4 separate regions of the Homo sapiens genome follow, and all the other regions are linked to region 2. Evidence: promoter capture Hi-C in 16 types of primary human blood cells and fetal thymus (Javierre and others, 2016). All regions are on one chromosome and are shown on one strand. Each heading gives the region's core, a stretch centred on a gene start or on the middle of the fragment in contact. The rest is flanking DNA. Distances are from core to core; before and after follow the strand shown.

The links. Contacts are between HindIII fragments. The CHiCAGO score rates a contact against its expected background, and 5 or more counts as called.
Region 1: a fragment that was not itself captured here is called in contact with the fragment with the promoter of WDR44 in region 2 in 1 of 17 cell types (monocytes); the score reaches 9.3 in monocytes.
Region 3: a contact is called between a fragment that was not itself captured here and the fragment with the promoter of WDR44 in region 2, in 1 of 17 cell types (monocytes). The highest score is 5.1, in monocytes.
Region 4: a fragment that was not itself captured here is called in contact with the fragment with the promoter of WDR44 in region 2 in 1 of 17 cell types (neutrophils); the score reaches 5.3 in neutrophils.

Annotation. Positions count from the first base shown.
Region 1 is chrX:119,476,552-119,482,253 of GRCh38, forward strand. No RefSeq gene overlaps it. Among named protein-coding and RNA genes, the nearest start is that of SLC25A5-AS1, 10 kb to the left of the region's middle. The HindIII fragment of the contact is 1,632 bases long and covers 516-2,147 here.
Region 2 is chrX:118,342,997-118,348,677 of GRCh38, forward strand. WDR44 (WD repeat domain 44) reads left to right here and starts at 3,110. Exons shown (of 20, transcript NM_019045.5): 1 at 3,110-3,584. The coding sequence starts at 3,508. RefSeq lists enhancers at 2,341-2,460, 2,651-2,700, 3,242-3,785, 5,281-5,681. The HindIII fragment of the contact is 5,332 bases long and covers 1-5,283 here.
Region 3 is chrX:119,400,040-119,406,068 of GRCh38, forward strand. The region is part of intron 1 of SLC25A43 (solute carrier family 25 member 43); the gene reads left to right. Among named protein-coding and RNA genes, the nearest start is that of SLC25A43, 3.7 kb to the left of the region's middle. The HindIII fragment of the contact is 2,315 bases long and covers 349-2,663 here.
Region 4 is chrX:119,856,079-119,861,868 of GRCh38, forward strand. No RefSeq gene overlaps it. Among named protein-coding and RNA genes, the nearest start is that of UPF3B, 6.0 kb to the left of the region's middle. The HindIII fragment of the contact is 185 bases long and covers 4,086-4,270 here.

The DNA.
Region 1 (5,702 bases), core at 82-2,581, 1.1 Mb after region 2:
TGTCTCTAATGTTTTCAGTCCCAGAATAGAGATGGTTATGGTTGCAAGGACATAACCAGAATAAAGTATCAGTTAAATAGCTGTTGACTGGTAACTTCCGAGGGCCTCGTGTTTGGGAATGAAAAGGAAAACTCTTCTGTCTAAATGAACTCCAATACCCAGTTTGGCAAGAAGCAGAGATATCTTATGGGCAGAGGCAAAGGCAGATGTACTGTGGAGCTAGGGGTGCTTCCCCTTTGGAGCCACCCCTTGCATGGGCCCCTCCCAAGCCCTAACCATATATTCATTTGGTCATATGGTTTGGCAACATTTTCAAAAGACATATTTTGTGTTTTTAAAAAGAGGGAGCCAAATCATATAAGCTGACACTTCCACAAAACTCAGATCCATTCCTGCCCGTGGAACTGGAGTGGATGAAGGAATTTGGAGGCAGCCCTGTACATCAGGGAGAGGTCTGGGGCTTCCTCACCACCTGACCTTCCTCGGAGCACACCGCTCAGGACTCACTCATGAGAAGCTTTGAGGCTAGAGGTCTCATTTTCAAATACCAAACTTTCTTACTTGACAACAATTCAACTTTTACTTAACTGTTTTGTGCCTTAGTTTCCCCATGTGGAATATGGGGATAACTTTAGTACCTACCTCATAGGAATAGTGTGAAGATTAAAGGAGTTAATATATGTAAAGTGCTTAGAACAATGCTGGGCACCTGCTTTACACAATTTTGCTCTTATTATGACTGTTATTGCTTTGTTTTTGTTTTTGAGATAGAGTCTTGCTCTGTCACCCAGGCTGGAGTTCAGTGGTGCGAACTTGGCTCACTGCAACCTCCACCCCCCAGGTTCAAGCGATTCTCCTGCCTTAGTCTCCCGAGTAGCTGGGACAAGAGGTGCAAGCCACCACACCTGGCTAATTTTTGTATTTTTAGTAGAGATGGGGTTTCACCATGTTGGCCAGGTTGGTCTCGAACTCCTGGCCTCAAGTGATCCAACCGCCTCAGCCTCCCAAAGTGCTGGGATTACAGGCAGGAGCCACTGCATCTGGCCCGACTGTTATTGTTTTATTGAAATGCTTTAAATTATTTTCACTTCATTCATGGGAGAATGGTTTAATGGATTTATCCTTTTCCTGCAGATTTTCTAAAACAGTCTCAAGAAAATGCTATATATACTATAGAAAGTGGATCACACACACACACACAGAGAGAGAGAGAGAAGGTTGTAAAGAAAGAAAAGGACATTTTTGGAATGGACTGAATGAATAGAAACATGTGCTTATGGTGATAATCCTGAGCTCTAACTCAGAGCACTTATTTTACAACACTGATTATGAAAGAGACCAAAGGTCAAAGATAAATCCGTCCTGCCTCACAACCAGACTGCACTGCTCACCTGACCCAGGGGCCACTGTGTGGTCACCAGGATTCTTCTCACAGCTTCCTTTGCTCTCGTAGTATTTCAAGGAACCCATGAGGTCCCAGCCTGATTACCCAACCCTATGACTTCACTCCCTAGGGAAAGAAGCTGCAGGGAGGAGAAAATTTACTGAGACCTTTAGAAGCAAAGGATCTCCTTTCACTTTCACAACTAAGTCCAGGGTTCAGGAGTCCATTTATTACAAAAATTGAGCTTCATAATGGCTTTATCCCAGAAGTGAAGATCAGGGGGTAAGGACGCTTGGGCTTCTGGGTAAAAGCGTGCTGTTTGCCAATTAGGGTAGAAAGCTAGGAGTTTGACCACTGAAATTGTAATCCCACTTCGGCTCCATGTTTCTTTGTCTTGGGTCATATCACATCCCGTCACTAGTTAGTGGCTCAGTTTGTCTACCAGGAAACCTGGAAATCAACTTTCCTTTTTAAGCTACAATATAATTCCTCAAATCTACTGTGGGCTGTGGTTCTTTTTGGAGTTTCTAGGGCTAGATAGATTGAATTAAGTTAAGCCTGCGTCTTCAGGTTAAACAATCGATACAACCAGGTAACAGTAATTTCTCTAAAACTACAGAATCAAGATCATAGCTCATTATTTTGACATCTTATATGCCAGATGTTGTGCTAAGCACTTTACATGGATTAACTGTCCCTATTGTCTCAACAGCCCTAAGAGGCAGGTATTATTATTCACTCCATTTCACAGCTATGAAACCGAAGCTTAGAGAGATGAGATAATGTCCTCTGAGCTATCTGACTCGGCAAAAGGTTTCAAAGAGAACTTCAAGGTGACCCTGTCCAACTATTTATTTTGGGTCATGAACTATATTAAAATATGAAAGCCGGCTAGTTTCAATACCAACTGACAAAATCCATTTGACAAATATTAAATAGAAATTATAATAACCTCAGTTGGATAAAAAAAGAGATAACAAAAGAAAAAATAAATTATAATAACCAAAGCACTGTTTGTAAAGTCCATTTTTAGAGTATGGGTTATTTTCTATTTTCAGCCAATTTAAGAATTATGGTCATTAAAAACTACTTGACCCTAAAGCTCTAGAGTTAAATTTGAATTTATTCACATTTCTTTGGCTTTTCCAAGACAGATCTTCCTTTTAAATGACGGCTCTTCACAAGGAATACTGAGCCTCTCTCTAAGGTTACAAGCCTGAGGCTGGGGTCATTAGGACTTTGCGTAAGGCCCATACCAACTAACAACCACAGGAGGAGTTGGTGTTGGCCGCACCCTTACCTCTAACCAGGGTTGGCTCTCAGAAAAATGCAGTGAGGCTGGGCACAGTGGCTCACGCCTGTAATCCCAGCACTTTGGGAAGCCTAGGCGGGCAGATCACCTGAGGTCAGGAGTTCGAGACCAGCCTGGCCAACGTGGTGAAACCCCGTCTTTGCTAAAAATACAAAAATTAGCTGAGTGTGGTAGCGGGCACCCGTAATCCCAGCTACTCAGGAGGCTGAGGCAGGAGAATCGCTTGAACCCGGGAGGCGGAGGCTGCAGTGAGCTGAGATCGCACCATTGCACTTCAGCCTGGGTGACAGAGTGAAACTCAGTCTCAAAAAAACTTTGGGAGGCCGAGGCAGGCAGATCACGAGGTCAGGAGATCGAGACCATCCTGGCTAACGTGGTGAAACCCCATCTCTACTAAAAATACAAAAAATTAGCCGGGCATGGTGGCAGGTGCCTGTAGTCCCAGTTACTTGGGAGGCTGAGGCAGGAGAATGGCGTGAACCCAGGAGGCGGAGCTTGCAGCGAGCTAAGATTGCGCCACTGCACTCCAGCCTGGGCGACAGAGCGAGACTCCGTCTCGAGAAAAAAAAAGAACAAAAGAAAAAGAAAAATGCAATGAGTTGGGCTTTGGGCTATTTTATCTGATTGCACCTTATATTGAGAGACAGTACTGTGCGCCTCATGTTCTGTTCCTCCTCCTGCACGTGATCTGCAGTTCCACTTGCCATTTCCTACCTATGTCATTCACTTTCATATTTCCAAGCTTGGCTGTACTATTGTTTTTCCCAGCATGCCCTTACCTGCCCCTCTGCCAGGGCATGATCCTTCAAGACCCAGCTCAGATTGCACCACCTCTGGGAGCCTTCCCAGACTCCACCTGCCCATACTCATTGCTCTCTCCTCTGTACTTCTAAAGTAATCTATCTCTGTCAGCTTCACAAAGGCAGATATTTTGTCTGTTTCATTCATGTGTCCCCAGTGTCTAGAACAGTGCCTGGCACATAGTAGATGTTCAAGAAATAGTTGTTAAGTGAATGAATTATAATGTTTATTTCATGGTATCACAACCAAGTATTTATTTGTCTGTCCTCATTAAGGGCTATGTCTCGTTTCTCTTTACATTCCTAAAACTGAGCATAGAACCTAACACATAGTGAATGTGTGGTAAATGTTTGCTGAAGGAGGAGATAAATGAGAAAATGGGCCAAGTGCAGTGGCTCACACCTGTCATCCCACCACTTTGGGAGGCCGAGGCGGGTGGGTCATTTGAGGTCAGGAGTTTGAGACTAGCTTGGCCAACATGGTGAAACACCGTAACTACTAAAAATACAAAAAATTAGCTGGGTGTGGTGGCACATGCCTGTAGTCCCAGCTACTCAGGAGGCTGAGGCCGGAGAATCGCTTGAGCCCGGGAGGTGGAAGTTGCAGTGAGCTGAGATCGCACCACTGCACTCCAGCCAGGGCGACAGAGACTCTATCTCTAAATAAATAAATAAATAAATAAATAAATAAATAAATAAATAAATAAAATAGCCAGGCACAGTGGCTCATGCCTATAATCCCAGCACTTTGGGAGGCCGAGGCAGTCGAATCACTTGAGATTGGGAGTTTGAGACCAGCCTGGCCAACATAGTGAAACCCAATCTCTACTAAAAATACAAAAATTAGCTAGGTGTGGTGGCGGGCACTGTAGTCCCAGCTACTCGGGAGGCTGAGGCAGGAGAATGGCTTGAACCCGGGAGGTGTAGGTTGCAGTGAGCCGAGATCGAGCCATTGCACTCCAGCCTGGGTGACAGAGAGAGACCCTGTCTCAAAAATAAATAAATAAATATCTGTATAACGAAATAAATAGAGAATGAATGAATGGCATGTTGTAGGGTTTGTGCATTGGTTATTGATTGGCATGAATGAATTTTGGCTCGATCCAGCCACTTGATACCTGGGAACAATTCTGTAGCAATAAATGTACAGGGCCTTTCTTTTTCATTTTCTTACATAATAATTCAGCAAATGTCCGGGGCCTTTTGACTTGCAGCTATTGTTTTTCCAGACCCTGGGCTTACAGGGAAGATCTGGATATTGCAGGGGTTGGGAAATCAACTGGTTCCTGTACTGCTGCTATGTTGTCCATGCTAGAGAACCAGAGAGGCGGGACCTTGGCACACACCCCTCCCCTCCTGAAATCTGTGTGAAAAACAGCTGACTCCACATCCAGGGCTTCTACCATACTGTGTTCATGGGATGCTGGCCTGTGCCACACATGTGCTGGCCATCTTGTCATGAGCCCCTAACACAGAGCCCTCCACATAGTAATTGCCTGATGGATGTCTGGTTGTGATGATGACAATATTGAACAGTGGCTGTCACACAACATGACTCAGGCCACTCCAAGGGGAGAGGAACAGACATGTTCCTGGGGCACCTGAGGACGCTGCCGATAGAGCTGTGCCAACTGCACGCCCATGTGACTGATTAGGGCTGATTAGGCCAGACCTGCTCCCAGACCTGGGCCTAATGTTCCCAGCTTCTAAGACTATTTCAGCCACTAAAAGCCCATGAGAACCCTTGAGTGAATGTGGCCCTTTTTGACGTGCTCAGGAAGCAGGCAGAGTTTGTTCTCTCTCACTTGTGAGTGGGAGGCCTCCAGGAGTGCAGCAGCGGACTTGCTCAGTAGTAACATCCATTGTCATTTCTTGAGCTTTGACTATGGGCCAGGCACTCTTTTAATTGTGGATACTCATTTAATCCTTTCAGTGGCCTTATGATGCAGGTGCTAAGATTACCATTTCCCAGATGAGGAAACCGAGGCACCTGGCAAACCACGTGTAACACCTGCAGATGAAAACCCTGAAAACAAAGGGAACCCCCCCCCAACTTAGAGAGAGTCAGAAAGTAGCACTTAATGCTGCGGTGCCTGGAAAATAACCACGGAGGCCCAGAGGAAGGGAGGGGTTCAAGCTCTTTAGGGACCATCGGCCTGCTTGGGGACCTACCCATGTGAGGAGCCCCTGGAGAGGCGCTTGGTGC
Region 2 (5,681 bases), core at 1,860-4,359:
ACTCAAGAACTGATATTTCAGGCAAAATAAACACATCTTTTACATCTTTAAAAGTGATGATGGGGCCGGGCGCGGTGGCTCACGCCTGTAATCCCAGCACTTTGGGAGGCCGAGGCGGACGGATCAAGAGGTCAGGAGATCGAGACCATCCTGGCTAACACGGTGAAACCCCGTCTCTACTAAAAATACAAAAAAATTAGCCGGTCGTGGTGGCTAGCACCTGTAGTCCCAGTTACTCGGGAGGCTGAGGCAGGAGAATGGCGTGAACCCGGGAGGCGGAGCTTGCAGTGAGCAGAGATCGAGCCACTGCACTCCAGCCTGGGCGACAGAGCGAGACTCCATCTCAAAAAAAAAAAAAACAAAAAAAAGTGACGATGGGCAGTATTTATATGTGTTTTAACGTTTCCAGCAATTCATTCTAGCAATTGGCTTTCTCATGCAATTGATAAAAGCATTTAAACGGAAACTTTAAAAGCTCTAAAAATGTTACCAGTTTATCATTCCTATCCATTTTACCTTTTTCTAAGTATAATGTTTAAGGCAGCTTAAAAGGTCCAAGAGAGCTGATATGGTATATTGAAAAAAAACAGAGCACCAAACTAGGACTCCGTATTTGTCTCCACTGCTAGATTATTAGCTTTTTGTAGGCAGAAACTTAAGTTGTCTTTTTCTGTTTTGTTTTTGTTGTTGTTGTTGTTGTTGTTTTTGAGACAGAGTCTCCCTCTGTCGCCCAGGCTGGAATGCAGCGGCGGGATCTCAGCTCACTGCAACCTCCGCCTCCCAGGTTCAAGCAATTCTCCTACCTCAGCCTCCCGAGTAGCTGGGACAACAGGCAAGTGCCACCACGCCCCCCTAACTTTTGTATTTTTAGTAGAGACAGGATTTTGCCATGTTGGCCAGACTGGTCTCGAACTCCTGACCTCAAGTGATCTGCGCACCTCGGCCTTCCAAAGTGTTAGGATTACAGGTGTGAGCCACCGCGCCGGATCTAGTTGTCTTTTTAATCTGTCAATTGTCCTCAGCATCTAGAACGCTTCATGACACCAAATTGTATATGTTTACTGAACTGAGCGACTGGTTTCCACACACGGCATTTTGTTTTTGTTGTTGCTGTTGTTTTTTGTGTGTGTGTGTGAGAGACAGGGTGTGGCTCTGCTGCCCAGTCTGGAGTGTAGTGGTGCTATCTCAGCTCACTGTAGCCTCAACCTCCTGGGCTCAAGCGATTCTCCCACCTCAGCCTCCACAGTAGTTGAGACCATAGGCACATGCCACCACACCCAGTTAAATTTTGAATTTTTTGTAGAGACAGGGTTTCACCATGTTGCCCAGGCTGGTCTGAAACTCTTGAGCTCAAGAAATCCGCCTGCCTCGGCCTCCCAAAGTGCAGGGATTACGGGCGTGAGCCACCGCGCCTGGAACTAACACCTCTATCATATAGAGAAAACTAACTTTTTTTTCTTTGGAAGCCATAAATTCACTATTAGATATCTAGGAAGAGAATACATTCAGGTAGTTAACATCTTTCCATAAATATATATTTCCCTACCTTATATCTGGTATCTTTCCATAATCCAAAAAGAAAACAAAAAAACCTATCTTAGTGAGCAAAACGTTTTTAAAAGTTAGTACTTTGAGTTACATTTTTATACCTAGGAAGTTAATTAACATGTTTAAGACACATAAAACCTAATAATTTTTAGGTTTGACAAAAGTCATACCCTCACAAGGATCCACAAATCCCTTGTCTCCAATTCTGAAACTTCAAAAGCTCTGGAAACCAAGTTTCTGTTTTTTTTTTTTTTTAGTAATTTATTTGACAGTCAAATAGATCTATCTTAAACTTATTTGGCAGAAGCGTCTGACTCAAACTGAATGAGGCTATTTACTTGTATTTATTTATCCCGTATGAACAATCATATATCTTGCTGCAAAAATATTAATATATTTGATTACGCAGTGTTTTCCCTAAACTCCCTGGGGTATTATAGAATATACAGTATATGACATTTGGTTTTTACCCAAGTCCACTAGACCACAGCAGACCTTGCCCTGATTGCTTGACAAAGTCTAGAGCCCCTTTCCAGTTTCTCTGAGACCATACCCCTGGCTCCAATCCAGCCTTTTCTTGAATACTAATTGAGGCTGCACGAACAGCTCAAAATGCCTATCATGATGTCAGTTGGAGAAATAAATATGCTGTGTGATCATACTGAAAGTCAATGTTATCACCTTGATGGTCAATGACCCGTGGTTTAAGAAGGAACATCTCGGTTTTTTAAAAAGTACCTTTCTATTTTTATCACCGGACGCTGGGCAGTTGAGGATCAGAATTAAGCCATTAGCTCGTAGGCTTGCAATGATATCTGCTCAATAAATATTTACCATTTAGCTGACGCACATCTTGGGCAGTATGTAAGAACTTCTCTCACACTGTGTTGGCAGCGACAGACATGTGCGGAGAAAAAGTAACCGGAGGCCTAATACTGGCTCAGCTCCAGCAATAAATCCATCATTACACCATGGAACTGGCACACTCCCCGTGTATATCTCAAGGACCCCACCCTCTGGCCGGCAGGATCATATCTAGGGATCTCAATTAGAGATCTCGTAGTGAATAAGGGCGAGTTATTCTCGTAACGCCAGAGGTGGTGGACCTGCCGACGCCCTAGGGTGGGACATTCCGGGCTTGGATAGTAAGACATCGTAAATATACGCCAAAATGTCCACACCAACGTTTCCCGAGAGTATTTCTTTACAAGTAAAAGACCGACTCAAAATCACCCCTCTCAAAACGCGTCTCTTTGGAACTGCAGAGTTAGGGAGTAAGACTTTCTGCCTGACCCCACCTACGTCGGCCGCGCGCTCTCAGAGCCAGGGCACCACGCTGCTCCTGCGCAGGTCCTAGACTCCTCCCTTCGGGAGGCTCACCCCCTCCCTTCTCGGCTACTTCCGGCCCTCACCGAACGCCCTCAACGCGCTTGCGCCGTTTTGATAGGCTTCTCGGGCCGAAGTAATCGGAGCGCTGCCTCTCTGGAACCGCCCCCGCCACCTCTTCGCCCCGCCCACGTATTACCGCCCCTCCGAAATCTCGCGAGGGTAGGTGCGCGTCGGTATTTTGCGGGCAACTAGCTCTTCCAGCTGCTGTAAATTGCTGCTGCGGGAGAAACTGGAGCCGCTGTAGCCGGCGCGCCCTTCTTCCCTTACTGCGAGGAGCCACCGCCTCTTTCGCGCTCCTTATACACCTATCACTGGGAGCGGTGGCAGCAACATTCCCTGGACCAACCGCCGCCTCTTCAGGCGGCCGCTTTGCCGGTCATTCCCGAAGCCCGGCAACTGAGGGCGGCCCCCTTTCCTTAACAGTCTCCTCGCTACAGATCGTCTGCTCCCTCAGCCTCGCCCGAGACCCACTTCCCCAGTCTCGCCCGGGTGGAGGTCGACGAGGAGGAGACAAGAGTCACCCTTCCTCCAGGCGGCGCCGGCCCCCTCACCCGCGGGTGTGTCCTATAAATGGCGTCGGAAAGCGACACCGAGGAATTCTATGATGCCCCTGAAGATGTGCACCTAGGGGGCGGCTACCCCGTGGGGTAAGTGACTGCAGCTATGACAGGAAGCCGGGCATCCCAAGCCCCCCGCATCTCCTGTGTCTTCCCCCTACACCCCTCCCAGGTCCCGCTGTGTCCGCCACCGCTGTTCCTCCCCGTCTCACTGGAGGACTTCAGAACCCAGACCTGGGGCTTCTTAGGGCGGGGTGACTCGGAGAAGGGGGAGTCAGCCACCTCGGGCAGCCTCCCGGCCGTTTCCCTACTGAACGGTCCCAGGGTCGGTCTCGGAGCCCGTTTCTCTTCTGATCCAGCCTTCTGTGAGGGGGAACAGCTTACGTGCCTGAGTCGGAGATTTGTATCTGTGGGGTTCTGAGCTTACCTTTCAAACATCCGTTTTGGCCTCGGGGACCGTAGATTAAAGGAGCAGTAACAGGAGAAATGTAACTTGTAGTTTTTTATTCTCCCGTTTACCGCTAACTTACCTATTCACTTCAGAGGTGGCTGTAACTCTCCCCTATTTGCCGTCCTCTTTTTCTTGCACACAGCGAAAAGGAGCGGGGGGAAGGTTGGGTATTTGCTTAAGAAAGTCCTCTAGCGAATGTACTCTAGATCAACAGTGTTTTATTAAAATAACACCTTATCGTGAGGTAAAGGAAATCGAATACACGGTCCCTATTAGGCAGAATGCGGTCTAAAAGGATGGCCAGACAGAAGAAATGTGCACAACTGACTGCAGAGGGACAAACAAGTGCTGAGTAATCTGGTGATTGGAAGGAGAGCCCCAGCTTTGTGTTCTTTATCTAATTCTGCAAGATGTTTTAGTGGTGATTAATATGGGTGATTCTGAATAGGAAGTACAGTAGTTGGAATGCTCGCTTGACTAGGACTTGTATTTACTTACCCACTTCTCCACTTTTCAAAGTTGGGGTAGTGCTTTAAAGCGATTTCGCCGAACTCCCCTACGAATGTACGTGGAAATAGAGGCAGTGAAATATATTTTCATGCTGTAAGAACTTGAGGATTGGTAAAATGTAGATGTTAGTATAAAGGACTAATATGGTTCGAGAAGTTCACTGCCTTCAATTCTCACACTTACTCCGTGGGAGTAATAACCCGCTGTGATGCAAGTATAGTTAGCCATGCATGCTAGAAGTCATTCTAAAAACTAATGTATGTTTATACACAATATGCACCAAAAAGTTACAGTAATAAAATCAGAAAGCAATGTACGTTGGTAGATTTCAGATGTTTGTCTTTCCACCAACCTTCATGTCACTGTTGTGGGATTTTGGGGTGGCAGTGGCCAATCTTGAGATGACACCGAATCTCCTTCAAGTTCAATATCTGAGACAAGTTTAGAGCTAGGTGTAGAGCATAGGAAATACATTTGGGTTTTGAAATGTATTGGACTTCCGTGAAACTTAATTTTTGTGTGTGTGGTTTTCCCTTCAAAGTAATGAACTGACAATTCAGATTGAATGAGACACCAAGTCCTTTGGTACTTTTGTGTGTGTGTATTGGGGTGGGGGAGGGAAATCATCAGTTTATGAGCTGATCAGTTTAGAACTACTCTGTGGATATTGTTCTTTCCACTGAATAAGTTTAATTTCAAAGGACGCAAGTTATATCAGGACCTGTGTAAACTGTCTAGTCCAGTACCTGGGCACAGAGAAAGCATTCAAAATGTTCATGCTTTTCTCCTTCCTTTCTTGGCATTGGCAAATTTGTTAACTTTACACAAAGCTTATTTTGGGAGATATATAGAACTTGGACCTATTTTACTTATCTAAACCGGATGAGTCATTTTGATAGAATTGATAGAGTCACTTCTTCCCTCATGAGATAATACAGCTTCTCAAGCACTTTGATCCTCTGATATTAGGTGAAAACTGAAAAAGGTTTTTTTGGAACTCAGCTTTCTAATTTTAACTTTAACCTGCCCAATTACTAAGTGTGTTGAGTTCTATGGATAAAACTACAGGGTCAGTTTGTGGATTTCAGGGCTCCTTTCTGTATTAGAGGATTGGAAAGACAATAGACTAATCTGGAGAATTGCATCTGAAAAGAACTGGCAGCACTGAGGGCAGAAAAAGGTTAGCATCATTTACATTTTCCTCTATCCTTTGTGGAAGGTTGTAT
Region 3 (6,029 bases), core at 256-2,755, 1.1 Mb after region 2:
CCAATTTGGAAACTTTTGCTTAGGCTGGCTTAGGAAGAGAGAGACCCTTTTAAAGGTGTTTTTGTCTGTGTGACCCAAGCCCCGAGAAGAAAGTGCTTGGTGTGGGGAAAGGACCCGATCCATCGATACGAAAAGGCCGCAGATTTTTGCCCACACATCTCCCCAACTTAAATGAAGCTTGACTTCAGGCTCCGACAGAGGCTGCAGCTTCCCCTCCCCAAGCTGAGAACGGCCCCCTCAGCCTACCGCTTCACCCCACTGGCCTCATTTATTTGGGCCTTTTCCACCTTCTCCCACATCAACAGCTGCTCCTTAGGAAAAGATCTAAAGGTGTAAATGCAGCCTTAAAGCTTCCACCGAGCTCAGAGGTACCTGCATTTGAACTGGAAACCAAGCCTGAAAGAATGAATTGGTAGTGATGGCATTTCAGGAAGCAGAGATGTTTCTGTATTGGGGGGACGGTCCCTGTGTTCCTCATTCAGTGGGCACAGTGGCATCTTTGATATCGCCTTGGCTCTGAATTAGACAAACAGCCCACATTTGGGAGAGTCGGTCTTGACCGCATAGTTTAGTCTTGGCGGCTAATAGTCAAAGGATTTTGCCTTGACACTGTCACTCACCTGGGAGGCCAGAGGTGGAAGGCTCACCTGGCAGCCGACAAGCCGAACGGAATCATCCTTATTACCTAGGCCTCTAGGCCAGTACTCATTTTGCCTCTGCCTGGAAATAGAGTTCCCTTCTCTTCCTCTGCAGAGGGACTCATGGGTGGGACCATGACATTTAGTTAAGGCCCTTTTTCCTCCCCACCTCTGCTTGCCCTCATCAACATCTGGCCTGCAGTCTGTAAACAGTTCTCCTCTGAGTCTTAATGACTCAGTTTCTCCCCCACTTCACCCTCTTCTCTACAAAGTAGTGTGGAAATCTTCCTTTGGATGGGATAAAATATGTCCAGAGGGGTGGGGGGCAGAACTTCAAAGGCTGGTTTAAGTATTGTGGCTCTTCTGCTAAGCACCTAGTATATGCACATTAGATTTTTTAAGCTCCTGCCTCCTGCCCTGTAAGGTCCATAGGACAGGAAGCATTGTGCCTGTTTTACAGATGCAGAATTGGGCTCAGAGTGATGACACCTCTTGTCAGTGACCGAGCTGAGCTCCACTACCTGGCCTTCTGACTCCAAATCTCATAGTCTTTCTGTTACATCATGCTGCCTCCCTGCATCCATTTGACACTAATTTAGTCAGGCTACATTAAGTCCCCACTGTGTGCACGATGCTGAGGACAATGCCAGGATGGAAGGGGCATGGTCCCTGTGCCCCAGGAGCTTACAGAGTAATAGAAGAGTAAGACTAATATGTCCATGACCATAACACACAAGGTAGCATGTGATTGTCATGGATAATGTGCTCTAGAAATGTACCCTTCTGATGAGCGATGAGGAGGAGAAAATGTGAAGACTTCATAGAGGAGAAAAAAATTTGAGTTTGGCATTGGGAGAATGAGGAGTCTGCTGGGCAGAGATGGAGAGAAAGATACTGCAGTTGATGTCAGCAAATGCACAGAGGTGGGAAGGCAAGCAGCACAACAGGAAGTCCAACCAGAAAAGCAGGTTGGAATGAGATATTAGAGGGTTGGATTAAGGGATTTGGACTTGACTTGGTATCCAAGGGTAGCTGTGGGAGGTTTTTGTGGGGGGTGGGGGGAGGTGTGTTGTGATTAAAGCAATTCAATGGAAATGATCGTCACATCGTGGCAGAGTAAGATGACTAGAGAGGAGGAAGAGTGGAGACAGCAGGGCCAGTTAGGAACCTGTTGCACTAGTCCACATAGCAGCTGAGGGCACCGGCAATAGGTGACCATGGGAGCAGAGAGGAGGAGATGTCTGGGAGAACGAGAACAGAGACTTACCTGGGCTAGGTTTGCTAGGAATTTTTTTTCCCCTACAGGATTATTTTCTTTCTGAAAACTAAAAGGAAGTATTTTGGTGAATGGCAAGGCATAGTTGGAAAGCAAAGTGTTTGATTAATCGCGATGCCATCCTTCCTACATCAACATGATACTCTTGATTCATCATTATACTGATTCATTTCTACTCTTTTCTGACCATGAATTTGCAAAACAGTTGGCTGGGGGCCTGTGATCATGGGTTTGAACAAAACATAAACATCCAGAATGTTCAGGGAATGGGGTAGTTAAGTGACTTGTCCACAAATGCAATTAATGGAAGAGCTGGAACTTGAAGCCAAGTCTTCTGGCTCCTTAGTTCAGGTCTCTGTCTACCATTGCACAGCAGAAATATCTGCTTAGTTGGATTGACGATCAAGAGTCCACTCAGTAGTCTGTTGGGAGCTAGGTTATTGTAATGGGTGGCTTTCAGATGTATCAAATAGAAGACCCCCCCGCCCTGGAACTTCACAACCGCTTGTCTATCTTATCTAATAAACGTTAGTTTGGGTCCCTGCAGCTCTGAAATTGTTCATAACCAACACTATTTCTTTATTGAATAAGCACTTCATGAGCTTATGTTTGGCTGCACTGGCTGCCAACCTGTTAGGTTGAAGTATTGGCAGTTATAATTACACATATCCAGGGTGTGTGTTGTATCTGTGCTGGCTGAAAGGAAGGGGTTGCTGCAATTCACCAGTGTATCCAGTCTCACTGGAAAAAGCTTCTGTGCATGTATGTGTGGGGGTGGGAGGAAGAACAGAAAAGGGAACAGTGCCGCCCTAGCAAATCAAAAGTTTAAGATGCATGGACTGAGATGACATCATTGGCGGATTATCAGGGTTGCCTGCCCTGACTCTGAGATTCTAAGGGGAACAATTGATAGGACTTATCTCTGTATCAGATGGGAGAAGTCTGCGAAAAAAGGACTTCCTATGGTTCTTCTTTTTAATTGTGTATATTTGATATTGAGACTCTATAAAAGAAACTGATATAAAATACGGCTCCTCTTCCTAGTTCATCAAGTCATTCAGTGAATTAAGGGCCTGTTTCCTCTCCGCTTGCCCCTACCAGTCATTTCCTTGTCAGAAGTGTTGAACTCCCTTAGGCTCTATGCTGAGGACTAACACAGGGTCTGATACATTGTAGACCTTCAATAAATGAGTAGTGAATTAACTATGCCCTAGAAGTGACCAAGTGGGATGGGGAATAAGAGTGGGACAAGGAGAATGAATGGTATTTCTTTGGGCATTTCAAACTCCACCTTCTAGGTGGTTCCAGCTTGCTGCAGACCGCCCCTCCAGTCAAAAATTTCTTTTTTTTTTTTTGGAAGAAGTATTGCTCTGTCGCCCAAGTTGGAGTGCAGTGACGCAATCTCGGCTCACTGCAACCTCCACCTCCCGGGTTCAAGCGATTCTCCTGCCTCAGCCTTCCGAGTAGCTGGGATTACAGGTGCACGCCACCATGCCTGGCTAATTTTTGTATTTTCAGTAGAGACGGGGTTTCACTATGTTGACCAGGCTGGTCTCGAATTCCTGACCTCGTGATCCACCTGCCTTGGCCTTCCAAAGTGCTGGGATTACAGGCGTGAGCCACCACGCCCAGCCCCAGTCAAAAATTTCTACTTCCTCTGTTTCCCCTGTCCTTTCTGAGGTCCCCCTCCAACTTGACTGGCCAGGGTATAGAAGAGGGAGGAACGAGGAAGTGGGCAGGCAGGCAGTACAACTGAGGCAGATAGTCTGTTGGTGAATGCCACCTGTTTGAGAAAAACCTCTGTCAAACTTGGTTTTTCCTCTGCTCTCACACCACAACAACAACCCTCAACACAGAAGACTTCTGTGACCAAATGAGTGTGGGGAACCCCACACTCTGATAAATGGACACCAACTAGGTGTCCTCTGATTCAGTTCTGACACTGTCTACCTGGACATAATGTCAGACCAAGCCACAGGTTAAGGGCTTGGTCCCCAAGAATGGCCCCCAACCAGACACTAGTCACAAGTCCAGGCCTCCAGAACTTTTTTTTTTTTTTTTTTAAGACTGAGTCTCGCTCTGTGACCCGGGCTGGAGTGCAGTGCGTGATCTCGGCTCACTGCAACCTCTGCTTCCCGGATTCAAACTATTCTGCTGCCTCAGCCTCCTGAGTAACTGGGATTACAGGCGCCCGCCACCATGCCCAGCTAATTTTTGTAATTTTTTTACTAAAGAGAAGGTTTTGCCATGTTGGCCAGGCTGGTCTCGAACTCCTGACCTCAAGTGATCTGCCTGCCTCGGCCTCCCAAAGTGCTGGGATTACAGGCATGAGACGCCATGCCTAGCCAGGCCTCCAGAACTTCTGACCAACCAGCTTCAAGTTGGGGTTCCCACGACCCCCTCTTTGGGTTCGATTAATTTGCTAGTGCGGCTCACAGAACTCAGGGAAATAGTTAATGTTTACCAGTTAACTACAGAGGATACCACAAAGGATACAGAGAAGAGATGGGCAGGGTGAGGTAAGGGGCAGGGGGTGTGGAGCTTCCATGCCCTCCCTGGGCACGCCACCCTTCAGGAACCTCCACATGTTCAGCCATCCAGAAGGTTCCCAAACCCTGTCCTCTCGGGTTTTTATGGAAGATTTGTTACAGAGGCATGATTGACAACCATGTAGAAATGTGACTGGATGAAAAGCACATGATCTAAACCCAGCAAGGCCTGTCTGTTCAGACTTTTCTTGGCCTCTATGCAGCGTTCCTTTCTCTAGGGCAGAGGTGTCCAATCTTTTGGTTTCCCTGGGTCACACTGGAAGAAGAATTGTCGGGCCACACATAAAATACAATAACACTAACGATAGCTGATGAGCTAAAAAAAAAAAAATTGCAAAAAAATCTCATAATGTTTTAAGAAAGTTTGCAAATTGGTGTTGGGCCACATTCAAAGCCATCCCGGGCCACATGCGGCCTGTGGGCTGTGGGTTGGACAAGTTTGCTCTAGGGTATGGGGCAGGACCCTCTCTGGGATGAGGATCTTTTAACCCACAATCAGATTAGAGTCCTACCTTGGGCAGGTAAAAGGAGGGCAGGAGAAGGTCAAAGAGAGAAAGATTCTGTTTCCTGAGACCTAAAGTGCCCCAACATTATAACAAGGACTAGGGAAGTTAGGAGCCAGGAACCATGGGTGAAAACCAATGTATGTATCATAGCACCACATCACCTTTACTTCCCTGTATGTTTAAAAGCAGCTGATTAACTCAAATGACTGTTTCAGTTAATGCGGCTAAGGTAGGTTGACAAAATGAAGTCAAGACTCCTACAGCTTGAAGATGTTTTTAATCAGTGAGTGTTTACTTGAAAGCAAAAGAGCTAGCCTAGAACCCCTTAAATGCTTTCACCTGAATGCCCACTCTTATTTCTCATGCAGCAGCCCCTGGCCTATGGGCAACTGAAAGAACAGGAAATGCACCTCCTCACTGGAGGTTTGAAGGCTAAGGAACTGGGGATGCTCTCATTTTAAAAAGATAGGCCGGGCACAGTGGCTCACACCTGTAATCCCGGCACTTTGAGAGGCTGAGGCGGGCAGATCACTTGAGCCCAGGAGTTTGAGACCAGGCTAGCCAACATGGCGAAACCCTATCTCTACAAAAAAAAAAAAAAAAAAAAAAAAAATAGCCAGGCATGGTGGCGCACATCTGTAGTTTCAGCTACTCAGGAGGCTGAGGTGGGAGGATCTCTTGAGCCTGGGAGGTGGATGTTGCAGTGAGCCCAGATCATGCCACTGTACTTCTGCGTGGGCGATAGAGTGGCCACCGCACCCGGCCCAGAACTGGGCACTTTGGGAGGCCGAGCGGGGTGGATCACCTGAGGTCAGGAGTTCGAGACCAGTCTGGCCAACATGGTGAAACTCCGTCTCTACTAAAACTACAAAAATTAGCTGGGCATGGTGGCGTGCGCCTGTTGTCCCGGCTACTTGTGAGGCTGAGGCATGAGAATTGCTTGAACCTGGGGAACGGAAGTTGAAGTGAGCCGAGATCGTGCCACTGCACTCCAGCCTGGCCAACAAAGTGAGACTCTGCCTCAAAAAAAAAAAAACGTAATTACTGAGATGCTCGAAGT
Region 4 (5,790 bases), core at 2,928-5,427, 1.5 Mb after region 2:
TGTGTCCGCCTGTAAAATCCAGGATAATCTCCCTATTTTAAGGACAGCTGATTAGCAACATTAATTTCCTTTTGCTATATAACCTAACACAGTCATGGGTTCTGGGGATTAGGATGTGTACAACTTTGGGGGAGATATTATTCTACCTAACACATACTGTAGACTTCCTTTTTGATGAAACTTTTAATTGCAGTATAACAGATGTACAGACAAGTGCACTAAAAGTAAGCATCCAGCTTGCTGAATTTTCACAAAGTGAACACACTTATGTAACCAGCATGTAGATCAAGAAACAAAACATTGCCAGCACTCCAGATGCTCTCTTCCTACTTGTTCCCAGTCATTTTCGCCACCAAGAATACCACTATCCTTTTTGCTTTTTCTTTTTTAGCAGCTACATCCTTTTATGAATGACTTCTAATACTATTGAGTTTGTCTGTTTTGAACTTTATGTAAATTGAATCATACAGCATGTATTCTTTTATGTTAGGCTCCTTTCTCTCAACATTTATGACTGAGATTTCTTTATTTATTTATTTAGAGACGGAATCTCGCTCTGTCGCCCAGGCTGAGGTGCAGTGGCGCCATCTTGGCTTACATCTTGGCTCACTGCAACCTCCACCTCCCGGGTTCAAGCGATTCTTCTGCCTCAGCCTCCCGAGTAGCTGGGAGTACAGGCGTGTGCCACCACGCCCGGCTAATTTTTGTATTTTTAGTAGAAATGGGGTTTCACCATATTGGCTGTTGGATACAGTGAGATCTAGATCTCTCTTCAAAGAATCAGTATGTCAGTATGTTCAGTTCTTTGTCCTCCATTGTAAAGTTTAACTTCCTCGTAGTTTCAGTAAACAACATTTTCCACCAGTTTTCATCAGTAGTTCACATCTGTTCCCCTGGTTACCTGCTCCGTCCTGACTCACCCCGGTCATCCGCTTTGACCTGAGTCACCCCTGGTCCCTGCTCTGACCTAAGTCACCTTTAGTTACCTGTTCCTAACCGTCCTTCCCACCAAACTATTCACCCCGCCACTCTGGCTCATACCCCTGGTCTCTTTAAAGTAGCCAATCAGAATTAGCTTAGACTGTGCAGTCCAACCCTAGCCAATAGGGGAGCGACACAGCAGTAGGGGCTACCTGTGTCAGGAATAAGAACCCCTTCCCCTCCCTTGTTCAGGTGTGCTCTTGCCATTACTCCATTCACGAGTCGCACCCTTCTATAGAAGTAAAAATTGTCTTGCTGTGAAAATTAAATTTATGTTCGAGTGCTATTTCTTTGTGGCACCGAGGAACAAGCATTTTGTTTCTAACATTGGCCAAGCTGGTCTTGAACTCCTGACCTCGTGATCCGCCCGCCTCGGCCTCCCAAAGTGCTGGGATTACAGGCTTGAGCCACCACGCCCAGCTTATTTATGTTATATGTAGCTGTGGATTATTCCTTTTCACTGTTACATAATATTCCATTGTATGAGTCTGCTGCAATTTATCCCACTCTTAGGGGCTAATACAAATAGTGCTGCTGGGATTTTAGTGCATATTGTTTGATGATTCATGTCAGATACATACCTAGGAGTGGAATTGCTGGATCACAGAGTAAGCATATGCTCAACTTTAGTAGGTACTACCATAGAGTTTTCCAACAGGGTTGTACCAATTTACACTTATCAGCAGTGTGTGAGAGTCCTGAGTGCTTCATACCCTTCCCAACATCTGGTATTGTCTCGTGGGTGTGTAGGGGTGCCTCATTGTAGTTTCACTTTGCATTTCTCTAATGATTAAGTTAAGCACCTTTTCATACATTTTTCACTGTGTGCCTTTCTATCCTTTTGGTTATTGCACCAGGTTATTATATTATTTATGCCAGAGCAAAAGAAACAAAACAAAACAGGGATGGTGATATGGCTCCTTTCCACCAAGTAAGGGGGAGAACAAGAATAAGTGTGTGCGTGTGTGTGACAGAGAGGGAGAAAGAGAGCTGTCCCTAAAGTTCCTCACACCACTGATTCTCACAGTTTCACTGTATGCTCCAAGGTTCCTCTTCCCACTTCTGATGATGAGCAGTATCATGTTTGGGACCCCATTTTAGAAAAGTAGAAGGAGGCTCTGCCTGTAATCCCAACACTTTGAGAGGCTGAAGTGGGAGGATTACTTGAGCCCAGGAGTTCAAAATCAGCCTGGGCAACATGGCAAAACCCGTCTCCACAAAAAATTAAAAAATTAGCCGAGTGTGGTGGCACACACCTGTGGTCTCAGCTACTCAGGAGGCTGAGGCGGGAGGATAGCTTGAGCCCGGGAGTTAAGGCTGCAGTGAGCTGTGATCGCGCCACTGCACTCCAACCTGGGTGACTGAACAATACCTTGTCTCAAAACAAACAAACAAACAAACAAAAACCCAGAAAGAAAATATCTATACACAAATGGAAGAATCTTACTTTAAAACATCTTCCCTGCCCTCCATTGAACAGGCTACTTTTAATAAATTGTCTTGCCCGTTTTTTATTAATTCCTTTCACAAATAAAACTCCTTGTGGAAATCTTGTGGAACTGCCTGGTGTTCAGCTCCATCTAGCTTAAAGGTGGTTTAATATCCAATTTTAAGATCAAGTTGACTTTTATTTAAATGTTATATTCAATGTTGTTTTTAATTAATTCTTGACCCAGATCAGCTCTGAAATTATCCAAATTCTAAACAGATAATTAGGAAAGGAGTTGGATAATTTGTACAGTACAAAAAATTATTTCACATGAGCGCCTGCTGATCCTAATATTACCTATGAAAGAAAGGGTAATATTTTATGAATTAGCCAAGTTAAAAATATGTATGAGAACGTTGGACTCCTTCCCAGTCAGTGCATAAAGGAGGCTTACATAGTATAATTATTTGAAGTACCTTCCCACAGTTTAAGGATTATAACGAAAGATGTTAACCAGCTATTCCTGATGTCTACTGATGACATAAAACAGGAGGAGGTGGCCGGGCGCAGTGGCTTGATAATCCCAGCACTTTAGGAGGCCGAGGTGGGCAGATCACTTGAGGTCAGGAGTTCGAGACCAGCCTGGCCAACATGGTGAAACCCCATCTCTACTAAAAATACAAAAATTAGCTGGAAGTGGTGGCGAGCACCTGTTATCCCAGCTACTTGGGAGGCTGAGGCAGGAGAATCACTTGAACCTGGGAGGCGGAGGTTGTGGTGAGCAAGATTGCACTACTGCACTCCAGCCTGGGCAACAGAGTGAGACTCTGTCTCAAAAAAAACAGGAGGAGCTAATGAACAATATAAGGAATTCAGTCACATGGGAAACAGAGATGAATTTCTCAATTAAGAAAAGTTTTTAGTTTAAAATTGGTAGCTGAGCCTTGGAGGAGTGACATTAGATTCTGAGGGAGAATACAAGTTGAGTATGCCTTATCTGAAATGCTTCAGGCCAGAAGTGTTTTGGATTTCAGAAGTGTTTCGAATTTTGGAATATTTGCATATATGTAATGAGATAACTTGGGGATAGGACCCGAGTCTCAACATGAAATTCATTTATGTTTCATATGCCCCTTGTACACAGAGCCTGAAGGTAATTTTAATTTTTTCCTTGGAGACACTGAATAAACTGTGTGTCGTGTGCCTGTGTTTTGTCTGTGGCCTGTCCCACGAGGTCAGGTGTGGAATTTTCCACTTGTGATATCATGTCAGTGCTCAAAAAGTTTCAGATTTTGGGGCATTTCAGATTTTGGATGCTCAAACTGTACCACACATGTAAACTTTATTTATTTATTTATTTATTTTTGAGATGGAGTCTCGCTCTGTTGCCCAAGCTGGAGTGCAGTGGCATAATCTCGGCTCACTGCAGCCTCCACCTCCCAGGTTCAAGCTATTCTCCTGCCTCAGCCTCCCAAGTAGCTGGGATTACAGGCGCCAGGCATGGGACTAATTTTTGTATTTTTAGTAGAGACGGGATTTCACCATGTTGGCCAGGCTGTTCTCAAACTCCTAAGCTCAAGTGATTCTCCCGCTTCGGCCTCCCAAAGTGCTGGGATTACAGCCATGAGCCACCGCACCCAGCCGCACTCATGTAAACTTGTAAGTAAATCCAGTAAGCTTTAAAAATCCTGAAGTTGTGTAATTTTCTCAGGGGAATAATTTTACAGGTATAAGCGTAGAAAATTATCAGTTCTATTTCTATAATGTAGACTTAGAAAGATCCTGTGTACTGAGAGTGAGATGAAATTTGGACAAAAGGAGACTTATGGACTTTCACAACAACAAAACAATCATGATCAAAGCTTATTTTTGCCCTGTGCTGGGCACTTTGTGTGCGTTGACTTGGTTAGTCCTCACACCAGCCCTATGAATTGGGTACTGTTGTTTTCCCTATTTTGCAATGAGTGAAATTAAGACACGTGGTCACTCAAACCCAAAATTACATGGCTAGAAAGTAATACAGCTGATTCATAAATCTAAATTACATCTCCAAGGCTGGTAGTTAAAAAAACAAAACAAAACAAAACGAAAACCCTAAATCCTGTGAGTTTGTGTAGGGGCTATTAAAAAAAACTAGAAAAAATTATAGAGTTATCTTAAAAATACTGGTAAATTCTCAGATGTAAAAGTAATGTTAATAAAATTAATAAAATGTTTGTTACATTACAAAAATATGAAGAGATTATTTATGTCAAATGTTAAATGCAGTAACACATTATATGGATATGAAAGTAAGGAGGCCGGGCGTGGTGGCTCACGCCTGTAATCCCAGCACTTTGGGAGGCCGAGGCAGGTGGATCACCAGGTTAGGAGTTCAGGACCAGCCTGGCCAACAGAGTGAAACACCATCTCTACTAAAAATACAAAAATTAGCCAGGTGTGGTGGCACGCACCTGTAATCCCAGCTACTTGGGAGGCTGAGGCAGGAGAATTGCTTAAACCTAGGAGGCGGAGGTTGCAGTGAACCAAGACCATGCCATTGCACTCCAGCCTGGGCAACAGATTTGAGACTCCATCTCAAAAAAAAAAAAAAAAAAGGCTGGGCACGGTGGCTCACACCTGTAATCCCAGCACTTTGGGAGGCCGAGGTGGGCGGATCACAAGGTCAGGAGATTGAGACCATCCTGGCTAATACGGTGAAACCCGGTCTCTACTAAAAATACACAAAAAATTAGCTGGGCATGGTGGCGCACGCCTGTAGTCCCAGCTACTCGGGAGGTTGAGGCAGGAGAATCACTTGAACCTGGGAGGTGGAGGTTGCAGTAAGCTGAGATCGCACCACTGCACTCCAGCCTAGGCAACAGAGCAAGACTCTGTCTAAAAAAAAAAATAGCCAGGCGTGGTGGTACACGCCTGTAATCCCAGCTACTTGGGAGGCTGAGACAGAAGAATTGCTTGAACCCGGGAGGCATAGGTTGCAGTGAGCCGAGATCTTGCCATTGCACTTCAGCCTGGGTGACAGAGTGAGACTTCGTCTCAAAAAAAAAAAAAAAAAAAAAAAAAAAAAAAACAAAAGAAACGAATTAGATTAAAGAAAGCTCTGATATATAGAGCTCTTAAATCCCTCAGAATTTCCTGGATCATAGTAGCATCTTTTGTTTTAATGAGGTGACTCTTGGTGGGATCCTGGATAGCCTCAGGATGGGGGCTGGTTGCCAGGGGAACCAATCATGTAATTAGAGGGTTGGAACTTTCAACCCCACATCACCCCACAAACCTAGACCTCTGGGGAGGGGAGAAGGGCTGAAGGTTGAGTTGATCACCAATGGCCAGTGATGTAATCAATCATGCCTATGTAATGGAGCCTCCATAGAAGTCCC